Regions from separate parts of the Homo sapiens genome. Here region 2 is linked to region 1. The links are contacts of gene promoters, found by promoter capture Hi-C in blood cells and fetal thymus (Javierre and others, 2016). All regions are on one chromosome and are shown on one strand. Each heading gives the region's core, a stretch centred on a gene start or on the middle of the fragment in contact. The rest is flanking DNA. Distances are from core to core; before and after follow the strand shown. Region 1 holds the start of SMG6 (SMG6 nonsense mediated mRNA decay factor). Region 2 holds the start of PRPF8 (pre-mRNA processing factor 8).

Region 1 (3,815 bases), core at 889-3,388:
GTTCGAGACCAGACTGGTCAACATGGTGAAACCCCATCTCTACTAAAAATACAAAAAATTAGCTGGGCATGGTGGTGGGCGCCTGTAATACCAGCTACTCAGGAGGCTGAGGCAAGAGAATTGCTTGAAACCAGGAGGCAGGTTGCAGTGAGCCAAGATTGTGCCACTGCACTCCAGCCTGGGCAACAAGAGTGAAACTCCGTCTCAAAAAAAACGAAAAACAAAAAATCTCAGCAGCTTTCATTGTGATACTGACTTAAATATGGTTGTCTTTCTTGTCATTTCTTTTTACCTGGTATTTCATGAATTCTTTAAATCTGATAATTCAAAAATTTCCACCAACGTAGTAAATTTTCTTCTACTATTTGATTATTGCTCTTCTGCAGTCAGCTGTATTATCCCCTTCTGGAACTCGTATTTAATTATTAATTTTTTGTACCCCTTCTCCATGTCTCCTATCTTTGTCTCTCAGTTTTTATCTATTACCTTTTCCTTCTGAGTTCTGGTAAATTTTCTTGAACTGGTTTAACTTTTGGCATATCTAATCTGCAGTTCACTGACACTGTTGCATTAAATGGGTGGTGCCATTTGTCCTAAGAAAGTTTTCTTGTTTTCCATTATTTTTCCAGCTGAAAAAAGAAATCATGCAATGGCCTCTCAAATTTCAATATGAAACAGATTATTTTTTAACGCTTCTTCCTATTTCTCTCAAATCTGGTGGCAAAGGCTGTCTTCTGCTCTGACCACTCAAATGGTTCCTCTTCTGAACTGTTGGATCTTTTCACCCATCATCTACTGACTTTCTTCTTATGCTTAACCTTCCGGTGACAAAGTGTCACGTAAAAGGAACTGAAGGAGTTCTGTCAGAGGTTGTGGCAATCCCTTCGGCTCAGACTAAGGAATAATTGGTAACTATTCTGTGATGGGTGTGGGGTAAAAGCCTATGGGGCTGTGGAGGGGCAACAGGTGGAGGCAGGAGGCCTTGGGGAAGGGAGCTTCACCTCTGTACAGTTCTCCAAAAAAAGATTCAAGTACCAGCCTTCTGGTATAGTTCAATTTTAAAGATGGGAAATTAAAAAGTCAACCTGAGATCCACAGCAGTAATTTTTTTCAAGAATCCATAGTGACACAGAAATTCCCAAATTGACTTTTTTTTTTTTTTGAGGCGGAGTCTCGCTCTGTTGGAGACTCCCGGGCTGGAGTGCAGTGGCGCGATCTCGGCTCACTGCAGTCTCCGCCTCCCGGGTTCAAGCGATCCGCCCGTCTCAGCGTTCCGAGTCGCCGGGATTACAGGTCCCAAATGGACTTATATGCCTCCTGATGTACTTCCTTCCACACGATTCCAACTATATCGTATCTAGTTTTTAAAAGTCAGGGGGCGGCCGGGCGCGGTGGCTCACGCCTGTAATCCCAGCACTTTGGGAGGCCGACGCGGGTGGATCACCTGAGGTCAGGAGTTCGAGACCAGCCTAGTGAAACCCCGTCTCTACAAAAAATACAAAAATTAGCCGGGCTTGGTGGCGTGCACCTGTAATCCCAGCTACTAGGGAGGCTGAGGCAGGAGAATCGCTTGAATCCAGGAGGCAGAGGTTGCAGTGAGCCGAGACCGCGCCACTGCACTCCAGCCCGGGAGTCTCCAACAGAGCGAGACTCCAACTAAAAAAAAAAGGGAATAGTAACAACTACTCTTAGCAGATCTTCAAGGTCCCAAGTAATGGCCCGCGGCGCTAGGCCGGGCCTGTGGCGGGAGAGCCTGGCCTAAGGTGTCCAGAGGAGCCCAGGCTGAGGGGTGTCTCTGTCAACCCGAGTCCCAGACTAGCAGTGTCCTTGGTGTCCACGACAACAGCAACGGCAGCCACCGCCGCAAACGCCCGCCTGGCCTGGCACGGCCCGGCCTCGCCTCACCTCAGCTCACCGGCGCCGCGCCTCCAGCTCCAGCCTCCGCGCGCCTCCCCGGCCGCACCTCTGCGCACGCGCAGCGCCCGCCCGCCCCACCCAGGCTCTCGCTCCGGTCCCGCCCCTCTGGAACCGGCGGCGGGCGCTTTTCCTCCCAGCGCGGCCACCGTCGTTCGGAAAGGGAGGGCGGCAGGGGGCGGGGAAAGGCCGGGAGGTGGGCGAGCGCGCGCGCCGCCCGTCTGTGGTGGTTTCCTGGCTGCGCGCGGCGGTGGCGGAGCCGCTACGGCTGTAGCAGCAGCCGCGAAGATGGCGGAAGGGCTGGAGCGTGTGCGGATCTCCGCGTCGGAGCTGCGCGGGATCCTGGCTACTCTGGCCCCGCAGGCCGGGAGCAGAGGTGAGTCGCGCCGCCCAGCTCCTGGGCCGGGCCTGCCCGCCCCGCCTCCCTCTCCTCCTCCTCTGCCTCCTCCCCGCTCGGCCCTCGGCTCCGGAGCCCCCGCCCCTTCCCCCAGCAGTAGGCGCTGGGGCCGCGGCGGACCCTCGCTGCCCTACCTCTCTCGCGGGTTAGTGCGGGGTCGGGCTCGGCCAGTCCTGGCCAGCTCCGGGAGAGCCTGGCCCGAATTCCTGCCTCCACCCTCTTTCTCGCCGCGAAGGTGACTGTTCCTTTTGCCCCAGCCCTCTCAGACCCGCCCCGGATTCCCAGGCATCGGGAGACGCGGAAAGGAGTGGGGTCTGGTGGAGGCCCCGGGCGTATCGCTCTCCAGGCCGCCCTCCGCGGGCCTGCCCCGGCCACCGCTTTAACGTCGGAGAGAAGGAATTGGGGAGAAAGGTTTAAGAGCCTGCGACTTCGTTGCTGAACTTTTCCCCCCCAAGACAGGCTTCCGAAAGCTGCGCCACTGGAGGGATCCGGGACCTCAGACTACTCGGGTTTGGCCCTGGCATGTGTGGGAGCAGTTTTTATTAGAGAGAATGCTCAATTTGCAAGTTAATTTCAAGTCTCCAGCCACGTCAGGAAAGTAAGAAAGATTCTAAGTGTCTCACCTCTCCTGCGTTAGGCAATAGAGTTGTGTAGAATGGTAGCTGTGATAGGTGCCTTCTCTAGGTTTGCGGCCAGTCTGTGAAATTGGTTTTTGTTGATTAACATAATTGGATTATTAAGGCTATTTTCTCCCGCTGCTCTAGAAAGTAGTAGGAATAGCTTTCCCCATCCCCCCGCCCCCCACCAAGTTACAGACTGCCGAGGGTGAGCTATTCTTGGGTTAAACTGCTTTATCTTTGTGGATACTTCATGAACCTACCTTTTAAACTTATGAAAATAGTGAAGCACTATCCAAAACCTCAGTCTCTTTTCTTCCCCTTTTCCTTACACCTACAAACAGTAAATGTACTTGCTGGAGCATATGATTCCTGTTTTGGGCTTGTTTCCATTTATATTTAGAGAGCAATACTAGGATTAAAAACTTTTTTATTGTTGTTATTATTATTTTTTGAGACGGAGTCTAGCTCTGTCGCCCAGGCTGGAGTGCAGTGGCGCGATCTCTGCTCACTGCAACCTCCGCCTCCCGGGTTCACGCCATTCTCCTACCTCAGCCTCCCCAGTAGCTTGGACTGTAGGCGTGTGCCACCACGCCTGGCTAATTTTTTGTATTTTTGTAGTGACGGGGTTTCTCCGTGTTGGCCAGGATGGTCTGGACTCCTGTCCTCGTGATCCGCCCGCCTTGGCCTCCCAAAGTGCTGGGATTACAGGCGTGAGCCACCGTGCCCGGCCAATTTTTTTGAGGCAGGGTCTCACTCTGTCTTCCAGGCTGGAGTGCAGTGGAGGGATCTCAGCTCACTGTAGCCTCCCCCTCCTGTGCTCAAGTGATCCTCCCACCTCAGCCTTCCGAGTAGCTGGAATTACAGACCTGCACCACCACACCTGG
Region 2 (3,815 bases), core at 412-2,911, 620 kb after region 1:
CAAAAAACAAACCAAAACCCCCACTTTTTTTCTATGAAACCAGCCTCGCTCTGTCACCCAGGCTGGAGTGCAGTGGTGCCATCATGATCCTCCCACCTCAGCCTCCCGAGTAGCTGGGACTACAGGCATGTACCACTATGCCTGGTTAATATTTTTATTATTTGTAGAGATGAGGGTCTCAGTATGTTGCCCAGGCTAGTCTTAAACTCATGAGTTTAACCAATCCTCTCGCCGCTGCCTCCCAACGTGCTAGGATTACAGGTATGAGTCACGGTGCCCGGCTTCTTTCTTAACTCTTTCTAGTAGTTCTACCACTTGGGATTACCTTTTTCCTTCCTCTCCATTTACCTTTATGAAATCCTCACATCCATCCATCTCCATCAAATCTTTAACAATTCTCCTCTGTCTTTTTTGACTGTAGGGACCTTTAGAACACCCAGCATTAAAAAATAGATTTCAGGCCGGGCATGGGGGCTCACGCCTGTAATCCCAGCACTTTGGGAGGGCCGAGGCAGGAGGATTTCGTAAGGTCAGGAGTTTGAGACCAGCCTGGCCAACATAGTGAAACCCTGTCTCTACTAAAAATCCAAAACTTAGCCGGCAGTAGTGGCGCGTGCCTGTAATCCAGCTACTCTGGAGACTGAGGCAGGAGAATTGCTTGATCCTGGGAGGTGGAGGTTGTGATGAATTGAGATCGCGCCATTGCACTCCAGTCTGGGCAACAGAGTGAGACCCTGTCTCAAAAAAACAAAAGGAATATTTTTTAAATTTTTACCGTTCTGAAAGCACATTGACATCCTTTGAATTTTTTTCTAATTATTTCACTTTGATTTGTAAATTCTCAACTAGATTCAGGGGCTGTATGGGTTACAATTCCTCTGCACCCTCCACAGAATTTCAGACTTTTTTTTTTCCCCCGAGACAGAGTCTCGCTCTGTCACCCAGGCTGGAGTGCAGTGGCGCGATCTTGGCTCACTGCAACCTCCCCCTCCCGGGTCAAGCGATTCTCCTGCCTCAGCCTCCCGAGTAGCTGGGACTACAGGCGCCCGCCACCACGCCCGGCTAATGTTTGTATTTTTAGTAGAGACGGGGTTTCACCATGTTGGCCAGGCTGGCCTCGAACTTCTGGCTTTAAGTGATCCGCCTGCCTCGGCCTCCCAAAGTGCTGCGATTCCAGGCGTGAGCCACCGCGCCCGGCCAAGGTCTTAATTCTTGCCTGCCTTTCTGCTCCCCTGTGAACTCTACTGGTTGTCTTTTTTCCTGCTTTATCCCTCGTCCTCGGTAGACAGTGATGGTTAAATGAATGAATGCATGAACAAATGACTGTCCAGGAGCTAGTACTGCATTGCATGTACACATTGATGACAACAGACATCGTACAATGCGCAATCTTGGCAAATTTATTCAAACCCTTTAGACTTCGCTCTCTCACAGTGCGACGCCGGGAGCCCATCACACGCTGAGGTCTGTCAGAGGCCCCAGAAACAGCCTCGGAAATGGAGGAGGCGGGGCTTCACCCCGACCACACCCCCTTGCGTTCAAAGCCTTTCCGCCTATGGGCCCGCCTCCTCGGCGCAGTGTGCAACTCTAATTGGTCGTCTCACTAATCCATCTGAGCACCTCGGCGCCGACTGGATCAACTGCTGAACTCGGGTTGCGCACTTCCCGGCGCTGGGAACGCGGAGCGGACGCAGTCTGGCCGCCATTGCGCTGCGGGGAAAGCGGCCTCTTGTGTGAGGGCCTGTGGGGTGCGTGGCAGGCGTTTAAGGCCGGGCTGCGGGAGGCGTGGTCGGGTCGGGCCGAGTGACCGAAGGGGTTAGGCCGGGCGGGGCTGGATGCACTGTGTGGCGGGACTGCAGGCCGGGGTCCCCGGACGCCTTTCTGCTGCGCTTCTTGTGGGCCCGGGCCTGTGGTTAGTGAATTTTTCTATCCCGCCGCTCCCCAGATTCTCCGGATATGGCCGGAGTGTTTCCTTATCGAGGGCCGGGTAACCCGGTGCCTGGCCCTCTAGCCCCGCTACCGGACTACATGTCGGAGGAGAAGCTGCAGGAGAAAGGTGAGGCGAGAGTGTGGAGCGGCGCGCGGGCCGGAGGCGGGGCGGGTGTGCGCGCGCGCAGGCGGGTGGGGACCCTCCCCGTTTGGGCAGCTCCTGAGGTGTCAGCTCCCTTGTTATTTCCAGTTAATTTTTCATCAAGTCATTTTAAGCGCGTATTATTTGCAAGCGCTGATCCAGCGGGGGTACAGTAGTGACGGAGACAAAATTCCTGTCCTTACGGGGTTTAAATTACAGCGGGAGAGACAGAGAATAACAAAACCTTGAAGCTCTGTAATAAAAATGTCAGGCCGGGCGCGGTGGCTCACGGTTGTAATCCCAGCACTTTGGGAGGCCCAGGCGGGCGGATCACCTGAGGTCAGGAGTTCGAGACCAGCCTGGCCAACACAGTGAAACCTCGTCTCTACGAAAAATACAAAAATGAGTCGTGTGTGGTGGCGCGTGTCTATAATCCCAGCTACTGGGGAGGCTGAGGCAGGAGAATGGCTTGAACCCAGGAGGCGGAGGTTGCAGTGAGCCGACATCGCACCATTGCACTCCAGCCTGGGAGACAGAGTGAAACAACCTCTCAAAAAAAAAAAAAAAAGTCAGATAGTGATCAATGTGATGAAAGGAAAAACAGAGTAAAATGGTAAGGGAATTGGCAAGGGGTGCTTCTTCCTGCTGGTGCCTGCTTCTCCCTCACACTCACTGACAGGAGCTTACCCTAGGGCAAGAGGTGAAGAGGATTAGGGGGAGGGTGTGCAGGCCTTTAAACTGAGGTGCCTTTCCAGCTCGAAAATGGCAGCAATTGCAGGCCAAGCGCTATGCAGAAAAGCGGAAGTTTGGGTTTGTGGATGCCCAGAAGGAAGACATGCCCCCAGAACATGTCAGGAAGATCATTCGAGACCATGGAGACATGACCAACAGGAAGTTCCGCCATGACAAAAGGGTTTACTTGGGGTAAGGAACATCCTGAAATAATTTCATTTGGAATTTGGCCCTTTTCCCTTCTCCCTGTCCCACAGTCTTGGATTGATGCTTTGACAGCTCATCTTGGTGGATATAAGAGAAAGGAGAAAACCAGTAGGAGTCTCTGATAATTTCTACATCTTCCACTTTTGCAGTCTGTTTCCCCTCTCTTCCCGATCTGGGACTGGTGCTTTAATTTGTCCTGTTGATGATATTATAAGATGTCCCTGGCCAGGCGCGGTGGCTCATGCCTGTAATCCCAGCACTTTGGGAGGCCGAGGCGGGTGGATCATGAGGTCAGGAGATCGAGACCATCCTGGCTAACACGGTGAAACCCCGTCTCTACTAAAAATACACAAAATTAGCTGGGCGTGGTGGCAGGTGTCTGTAGTCCCAGCTACTTGGGAGGCTGAGGCAGGAGAATGGCGTGAACCTGGGAGGCGGAACTTGTAGTGAGCCGAGATCACACCACTGCACTCTGGCCTGGGCGAAAGTACGAGACTCCGTCTCAAAAAAAAAAAAAAAATGAAAAATAAGATGTCCCTATGGTTGAGCTGGTTGAAGTCCAGAGTGGGATACTGTGCATAGTGGCAGCCTGTCGCTCCTCAGGGACCTGAATTCTGTGTTTGGGGTATTTAATTTCAGAGGTTTCCCTACTCCTGTTTTTTCTGTGGCTCTAAACTGGGCTAGTACAGGTACAGATGTCTTAGCAGATTCCTGTTCTATTTGGACACAAAAATGTTTGCCATGTAATGAACTGGAAGTTTTGTTTATTTCAAAAAATACTTAGAGAACTGTGCTGGCTGCTGGG

The links. The method cuts DNA at HindIII sites, captures the fragments that hold promoters and counts their contacts. A CHiCAGO score of 5 or more calls a contact.
Region 2: the fragment with the promoter of PRPF8 here is called in contact with the fragment with the promoter of SMG6 in region 1 in 8 of 17 cell types (naive CD8 T cells, fetal thymus, total CD4 T cells and 5 more); the score reaches 10.9 in naive CD8 T cells.

What each region holds. Positions count from the first base shown.
Region 1 is chr17:2,302,108-2,305,922 of GRCh38, reverse strand. SMG6 (SMG6 nonsense mediated mRNA decay factor) reads left to right here and starts at 2,138. Exons shown (of 19, transcript NM_017575.5): 1 at 2,138-2,290. The coding sequence starts at 2,203. It overlaps SRR (serine racemase), which reads right to left and starts at 1,973. Exons shown (of 8, transcript NM_021947.3): 1 at 1,906-1,973. RefSeq lists silencers at 1,889-2,108, 2,299-2,508 and enhancers at 2,010-2,736, 3,066-3,815. The HindIII fragment of the contact is 10,069 bases long and covers 1-3,815 here.
Region 2 is chr17:1,682,713-1,686,527 of GRCh38, reverse strand. It overlaps PRPF8 (pre-mRNA processing factor 8), which reads left to right and starts at 1,661. Exons shown (of 43, transcript NM_006445.4): 1 at 1,661-1,748; 2 at 1,946-2,056; 3 at 2,827-2,995. The coding sequence starts at 1,957. The HindIII fragment of the contact is 11,873 bases long and covers 1-3,815 here.